Regions from separate parts of the Homo sapiens genome. Here region 2 is linked to region 1. Evidence: promoter capture Hi-C in human tissues and cell types (Jung and others, 2019). All regions are on one chromosome and are shown on one strand. Each heading gives the region's core, a stretch centred on a gene start or on the middle of the fragment in contact. The rest is flanking DNA. Distances are from core to core; before and after follow the strand shown. Region 1 holds the start of TFF3 (trefoil factor 3). Region 2 overlaps ABCG1 (ATP binding cassette subfamily G member 1).

Region 1 (3,808 bases), core at 1,166-3,665:
CCAAGGTCAGGCAGCACAGAACCTAGTCTTGGCTTCACCATCTTAACTCTGACATGATCCCGTCTCCCTTTGCGGGGGGACTCTTCAAGGACAAGAATGTGTCACCTTTGTTATTCCTTCCCCAGCCCTAAACCCTGGGTGTAGGCAGTAGGAGCTCAGTCAACATTCACTAGTTAAACGGAAGCAAACCCCAGCAGGGTTCTCGGTGCTGGCCGCAGAGAAGAATCACAGGCGACAGAACCACCTGTCAGGGCGGGGCCCAGGCATTGATATTCTCCCCACTCCAGGCAATTTTGAGTGCAGCAGGTGGAGACCACAGCACCTGCAGAAGCTCCTTGCGGGGGTCCTTCCCCAGCAGGTCATGAGGGCCGGAGGGGCAGCAGTCTGTTCCTGGGGTGTTTGCACCCTCCTGGAACTCAGCCCTGCACCACGACCTGGCCTGGCCTCTGGGTACTAGGAGCAGTGGGAAGGCAGGGAGATCTCACCAGATCCCCCAGGGAGATCTCACCAGATCCCCCAGGGATTTCCCCTACAATGACCTTTTTAATAACATGAAAATCCTGCTGTCCATTGATGAACCTGGGTCCGCTGTCTCCCAGAAAAAGTGAGTGCCCCGAAAACAAGGCAGGCAACGCTCTTTCCTTCTTCCTCCTTCGCTGGCCTCAGCGGGAGTGGCACATCAGAGGCCAGGGGCCCTCAAATCCATCCACAAAGGGCGTGCTGAGCGCAAGGGCGGGGCCTGGGAGTCACAGGGCAGGACACATCCTGGTGCTCAGCACGTACGCCATCGAGCTCCCATGGGTCACTCGGGGAAGGGCAGTTTGTGGATGCACCCTTGGAGGCTCAAGGCCGCCCTGCACACACCACCGGGGACCCCAGCTGCAGGCTAAATCCAAGCAGCCAGGCGCTCCCATTTCTCGGGGTGATAAACCAAGTCCACCCTTCAGACAGAGGCTCCTGGAAGGGCCAGTGGGGGTCATCAAAATGCCTCCCTGGAAAAGAAACACGGAGAACACAAAATCTAGGGGCCCGTTTTCCTGGAATGAGATTAGTCTCTTGCCCACTACCAGCCAGTCCACTGCAGGAGGTTGGGGGGTTGGGGGATGCTGCGGATGCCGAGGGCGGAGGCTTAGGGTCCTGGGAGTGGGTTAAATACCAGCTATACCAGGGACACTGGAGTAACCTCTGATAGGCACCGGAAATGTTGAGTCTTAGTTTCTTCCTCTGGAAAATGGATAGAATCATCGCTGTCTCATCTGATATGTTGTTATAAAACAATTCCTGAGATGTAGTCTTTAGTTTTTAAAAGAGCACGCTGGGCAAAGGTGGAGAGTCAGTTCCTGTTTGTGTTAAAAATGTGGCCGAGTGCAGTGGCTCATGCCTGTAATCCTGACACTTTGGGAGGCCAAGGAAGGCAGATCACTTGAGTCCAGGAGTCTGAGACCAGCCTGGCCAACATGGCGACACCTGGTCTCTAAAAAAATACAAAATATTAGCTGGACACATGCCTGTGGCCCAGCTACTTAGGAGGCTGAGGTGGGAGGATCACTTGAGCCCCGCGAGGGCGGGGGTCTCAGTGAGTTGAGATTGTGCCACTGCACTCCAGCCTGGGTAACAGAGCAAGACCCTGTCTCCAAAAAAAAAAAACAAAAAAAAAACAAAAAAAAAACAAAACAAACAAACAAACAAAAACAAACCAAAAAAACGTGCTTAGATCCAGAGAGAAAAATTCTGAAAGGATACCTAAAAAAGTGTTCACAATAGATCAATAGATGCCTCTGGATAGGAAAGGCTCTTTTGTATTATTTGATTTTAAAAATCAATTATGTGTACCATGTTTTTACTAACATATTTTCAATCAATTCATTTCATCCACTTATTAAAATGTAGTTACTAATTTTTAGGGGAGAAAGCAAAAAGGAAAGACAAGGAATCTCTGTGTTTCAGGAGTTGTGAGAGAGCCGCAGGGTCCTGACTCACTCAGAGCTGCCTGTCTCCGAGGCCGATCTGGGATGAAGCAGCCTGGGGCTCTCTTGTCATGGGACCAGGGGTGTTCTGAGGGCTTCTGGCTGGGAGGCTGAGATGGAACGGACACCACACCCTGGTCCTGCCACCCCACATGGCTCCTGCACACTACACCAGGCCAGGCTAGGAGGGCAATTGACACACATCCGCTCCCCAGTAGAGGACCCGGAACCAGAACTGGAATCCGCCCTTACCGCTTGCTGCCAAAACAGTGGGGGCTGAACTGACCTCTCCCCTTTGGGAGAGAAAAACTGTCTGGGAGCTTGACAAAGGCATGCAGGAGAGAACAGGAGCAGCCACAGCCAGGAGGGAGAGCCTTCCCCAAGCAAACAATCCAGAGCAGCTGTGCAAACAACGGTGCATAAATGAGGCCTCCTGGACCATGAAGCGAGTCCTGAGCTGCGTCCCGGAGCCCACGGTGGTCATGGCTGCCAGAGCGCTCTGCATGCTGGGGCTGGTCCTGGCCTTGCTGTCCTCCAGCTCTGCTGAGGAGTACGTGGGCCTGTGTGAGTACTGCCCTGACTGCCCCGGTGGCAGGGTGGGCGTGAAGGGAAGGGATCCAGGATAAGGGGGGATTCTGCATTCATTTAATAATGGCCACCTGTCACATATACACTTTTTCCTGCGCTAGCCCTTTGAAGTGGGTCTTTATTGTCCCCATTTCACAGACAAGGAAACCGAGGCTCAGAGAAAGTTAACAACTTATCCAAGGCAGCCCTGCCCAGTCTGTGTTGAAATCAGGGTTTGAGCCTGAGCCCATCCCCTATGACCCCATAGCCATCTTTGCTGGAGATTTCTAAATTACAATATAGGTCTTTATGCATTGTTCCACATTTACAAAGAAAAAGGAAAGATGCAGGAGAAAAACCCTGACTTCAGAACACTGTCAATACCGGCAGGCACAAGGTTCATTTAGCCATTGCATAGCAACCCTGCCATGGGGTGTGGCTGCTCCATTAACCCAAGTTTGAAGGAATGAGGGCATGGCTTTTATCTGGGTGTCTTCTGAGCAGGGTCAAAGGCAGTGGTTCCCGAACTTGCAGCCCATTAGAATCACCTGGAGAGCTTTAAAAATCCTAATGCTTGGGGCACACCAGTTACATCAGGGCATCTCCAGGCAAGATCCAGGCCTCAGCTGTTTTGTTTTGAGATAGCCTTGCTTTGTCACTCACTGCTGGAGTGCAGTGGCACAATCTCAGCTCACTGCAACCTCCGCCTCCTGGGTTCAAGCAATTCTTGTGCCTCGGCTTCAAGTAGCTGGGATTACAGGCATGCACCACCATGCCCAGCTAATTTTTTGGATTTTTAGTAGAGATGGAGTTTCGCTATGTTGGCCAAGCTGGTCTCAAACTCCTGGCCTCAAGTGATCCTCCTGCCTTGGCCTCCCAAAGTGCTGGAATTACAGGTGTAAGCCACCATGCCCAGCCAACGTCAGTCATTTTTAAAGCTCTGCAGCTGATTCCAGTGTGAGCGAAGTTTGGATGCCAGGAGGATAAGCAATTACGGACTGGGAGCAAGAGAAGGGAATGTAAGACACTGCACGTGATTGCCATTTTCCTAAGGAAATACTCAGTTCGTTAATGAAACGCAGTGAACTTCTGCTGCACATACAGACATAGAGGCTTGCCTGAAACATGAAAATATTGGGGACTGAAGGATGTCCCGGGAGGGTGGGACATGCTCAACAATTCAGGAAGGGGAGATGCAGAAAAAAGTGAAAAGCAGGCAGCATGCGTTGCAATGATCTCTATGGCGTGTGCCTCTCCTGTCACGGTTTTCATTT
Region 2 (3,808 bases), core at 617-3,116, 35 kb after region 1:
GCATGGAGTCCGTGGGGGCTGTTCCCAGCACTCTTGTCATCGCTGAGGTAGGCATTAAGGGCAGGAACACGGTCACACACACCAGGGCTCTCGGGGAGGGGGACAGAGTCACTTTTGTTCTTGTAAATAGGTTTGACTTGAAAGCAAGGTCTCTGAGGTGCCAGGAAGGCAACGAAACAGATCTGCAGTACCCCTCAAAGCAGTCATGACCCACGGTAGCCACACCACGGCACAGGCTCTGGGAAGCAGGCTGCACGCCAGGAACAAGCAGGGCACTGCGCACGGAGCCCTCCCTGTCTGCTCCGGATTATTGATCCTGTATCGACTCAGGGAACACGAAGGTCAGCAGATTTCTGTGCTGGCTTGGTGCTGCTTTCAGCCCCAGCATCATCTCAGAAGCAGGCCCTGGGTCAGCCACTGCCATCCCTGCCTCCCTACCCTGGGGACAGCCCACCTGGAGCTCCCTCCAGCATTCACCCAGCTATTGTCCCCACCCTGCCAGGGCAGCCCTGTGGTGGCCGGCCCCTGGGAGCCATAGCAAGCGGACCCTACTCCAGCGGCTCCTCTAGGGAGATGAAGTCATCTGAAGGGAGGAAGAACTCACGAGGAAGAAAATTTCCACTCTGAGCTTCTGAATTATTTATGCACAGTCGGTACAAAGTGCAGCTTTGGTGACAGAAAGAACCGGGGCACGGCTGCTGGACAGGCCAGGGCAGGTGGCAGTACAGGGTCAGCCGACCTGGGCTCCAGCCCTGTCCTGAACCTCCTTGCTGATGCCCTCACCCCAGCCCTGGTGCCTCTGCTGGATGCCTGGCTCTGAGGGCCGCCAACCCAGAAACAGCTTCTGGAAGGCTGTCTGGAAAAGGCTGGTGGGTGGGGGGCGTGCAAGGTGGGCAGAGCCCTCTTCCCAGCTGGCATCGACTGCTGGTCTTCCCAGGACGAGGCCTCCAGATCTTCTGGAACCACTGGGCGACGCTCTTGGCCGACTGAGTGGCTCTGGTGCTTCCAGGCTCACTGTGGGGGCCCCACACATGCGGCACATCTTCTTCTCTCCCTCCACCCTCACGGAGGGGATGCTGGAAGCGGAGGCCGCTGTGGGTGCCTTTCCCTCCGCACCCCTGCCCATGAGCTGGGCCCACCCCACTTTCTCCAGTGTCCGCTCAGGAGTGATGCCACCCAGAAGGGTTCTGTTTTAAAGACTAGTCAGAAAGAACAAACAATGATCTCAGTTATTTATACATTTTCCCTAAACAAACAAACAAAAAACCTGCAAGGCCACTTGTAGCTCCAGCCCCCCTGGGGCTTCCCGGCGGGCGCTCCAGGGAGGATCTCGGCAGCCCAGGCTGCCCCTGGAGACCTCACTCCTGAGGAAGTGGCCTTGCTGGAGGGCTCTGGAGGGCTGAGGCTGCTTTGCTGGGAATTAAGGAAGGCCGTGAACAACACAGCAAAAATTCCATGATCTTCTAGAACATTCCATCCCATTGTGTTTCCATGAGACAGAGAGAGAACTTTGACCTAGGTGCACATCGGGGGTTGGAGGGAAGTGAGTGAAGGCACAAAGTTGCTGCCCTGTTCTCCTGAAGCAATCCTGATGGTGGGCCCGATGGCGAGGCATGCACCTGTGCCATGGCTGAGGAACAGCTGGGTCTGCTGGTGAGGAGCATGTGCAGGACGCAGCGTGGCCTCCAGGTCCTGTGGGGAGGGCTCTCTGCATTGTTCAATCCAGCCGAAGAGGAATCTGAGGACGGCGCCAGGGGCTCACCCCTCAGGGATGATTCAGCCACATGAGCTGATATTTTTGCCCTTGTAAACCCAGTTGAAAATAGCTGGAGGCTCTCATCCGGGCCGTGTCTTAGGCAGGGCCCAGGCACCACGAGGACACACACCTATGGGTGCCATCTGCCTTCGGGTCCCGTGTAGCTACTCCTGGGAGGCGCCTCCATTCTCCACCAAGATGCCAGCTTGTTCTGGGTCTTCCAGCTCCGGCAGGCCAAGGGCCTGGCTTGCTGTGACTTCAGCACGGAGCCTGCTGAGCAGCACTCACTGTGCGCCCAGCCCATGGGGAGAGCGACTTTCACCAGCTACCCCGGAAAAGGCTGGTGGCTGTCGCCTTATGCTGCAGGGAAGCAATCCCACAGCCCCTCCCATATGGATCACATGGGCTCCATCGAGCTCAGAGACCTTAAAGAAACCATCCAGTTCAGGTTGCACTGCCCCAAAAGGCAGGTGGGGCCTGGCTTCCTGTCCCCACGTTACAGGTGAAGCTCGGCTCGGGGCACAGCAGGCAGTGGCCCAAGGCCATCCGGTGGGTTCCAGGAGGCCAGGATGGAGGGCTCCCCCGTGTGCTCAGCTCTACTTCACCACAGGGCCTCTCCGTGTTAGCAAGTCTCTCCGCCCTCCGCCTCCTGCGTCTGCTCCCCCGGCCTCCGGTGATCCCCGAGACCCTCTCCACCGTTTGCTCTGTCCTTGGGCCTTATTTTGGGTCAGAGAGACAGAATTCCCTCTCTCCAGCGCCTCCCTCTCCAGAGCTCTTGGCTCCTCCTCCACGCCGAGCATCAGTGACCACTTCCACCGTCTCTCCTTGGAGCCCCCACAGCCGCCCCTCAGCTTGCAGGCCAGCATCTGGAGGGGTCTTTGGGACCTCGATGGAGGGCTATCCGAGACAAAGAGATTGGATTGTGCTTCCGACACCCCATGAAAGCAGGGAGGCCGGGGGATGGGAAGGAGGGCCCTGAAAGGCGGATCCAGGGGCACTGCATCCAGGCTTCGGGAGGAGCAGCTTCTTGAGTCTCCGGGTGGAAAAGCCTCTGCTTCATGGGGGCCCTGCACACTCTTGCCGGCCTCTCCTCTTGTCCTGTAGCTGATGGCAAGGAGGGCCCAGGACTGGGGGGTGGCAAAACTGACCTCAGACAGGGAGAGTGAAGGTCGCCCTGGCTCAATCCCAGGGCCCCGTTCTGTTGATTTGGGTTCATCTCCCATGGGAGACTTCGCCGAGACTCAGCTCTGACACCTGCTTTTCTCCATGTTCTTCTGTGTGCCTGGAACTAAGGCTCTCGTTTGTTACGTTCACTGCTGTAACGAAGTCCCCCACACTGGCTGGTTTCCACAACAGAAACTCCCGCCTCAATTCTGGAGGCCAAAGTCTGAGATCGAGGGCAGCAGGGTTGGTTCCTGAGGCCCCTCTCCTGGGCTGGCAGATGCCGCCTCCTCCCTGTGTCCTCACGGGGCCATCCCTTGGTGTGTCTGGGTCCTCCTCTCCTCTTCTTACAGGGACACAGTTAGACTGGACTGAGGCCCACCCATATGACCCCATTTTAACTTCATTACTTCTGTAAAGACCCGATCTTCAAATACAGCCATTTCTGGGTTTCTGGGGTGTAGGCTTTAACATATCATCTTTTGGGGGGAATTCAGGCCATAACACTCATCTTCCATAACTTGGTATAAGTAACATTCTCGGGCTTGGGAGGTGGTGTGTGTGTTGTGGGGGGGTGTCTACGTTACATTGTTTAGAAAACACTATCCAGAGGGGGCTCTCGCCTTTCAGCCTAGACAATAAACTCACAAGGCTGGGTCTTCTGCCCCCATGAAGGGCCAGGAACACATGTGATTTCCACATTTTCTCTCTTTTGGTTTCCACTCATCCATTTTCTTTTCAATCTCAGAATAAAAGAATTCCACACAGAACATTTTCTGTAGCAACAAAGAGTCATTTTCCTTCTCTCAGACATTAGGCTCTTTCCACCTGCACCGGGCATTTCACCCCCCAGCCCCGGTGACACGGGCTGAATCCTGAGTTTTGAAGGGC

What was found. The method cuts DNA at HindIII sites, captures the fragments that hold promoters and counts their contacts. A contact is called where the count stands out against the background at its distance.
Region 2: a contact is called between a fragment that was not itself captured here and the fragment with the promoter of TFF3 in region 1, in 1 of the 25 tissues and cell types used here (lymphoblastoid cells).

Annotation. Positions count from the first base shown.
Region 1 is chr21:42,314,016-42,317,823 of GRCh38, reverse strand. TFF3 (trefoil factor 3) reads left to right here and starts at 2,415. Exons shown (of 3, transcript NM_003226.4): 1 at 2,415-2,531. The coding sequence starts at 2,450. RefSeq lists enhancers at 77-695, 696-1,315. The HindIII fragment of the contact is 18,141 bases long and covers 1-3,808 here.
Region 2 is chr21:42,277,971-42,281,778 of GRCh38, reverse strand. The region is part of intron 5 of ABCG1 (ATP binding cassette subfamily G member 1); the gene reads right to left. Among named protein-coding and RNA genes, the nearest start is that of TFF3, 36 kb to the left of the region's middle. The HindIII fragment of the contact is 7,808 bases long and covers 1-3,808 here.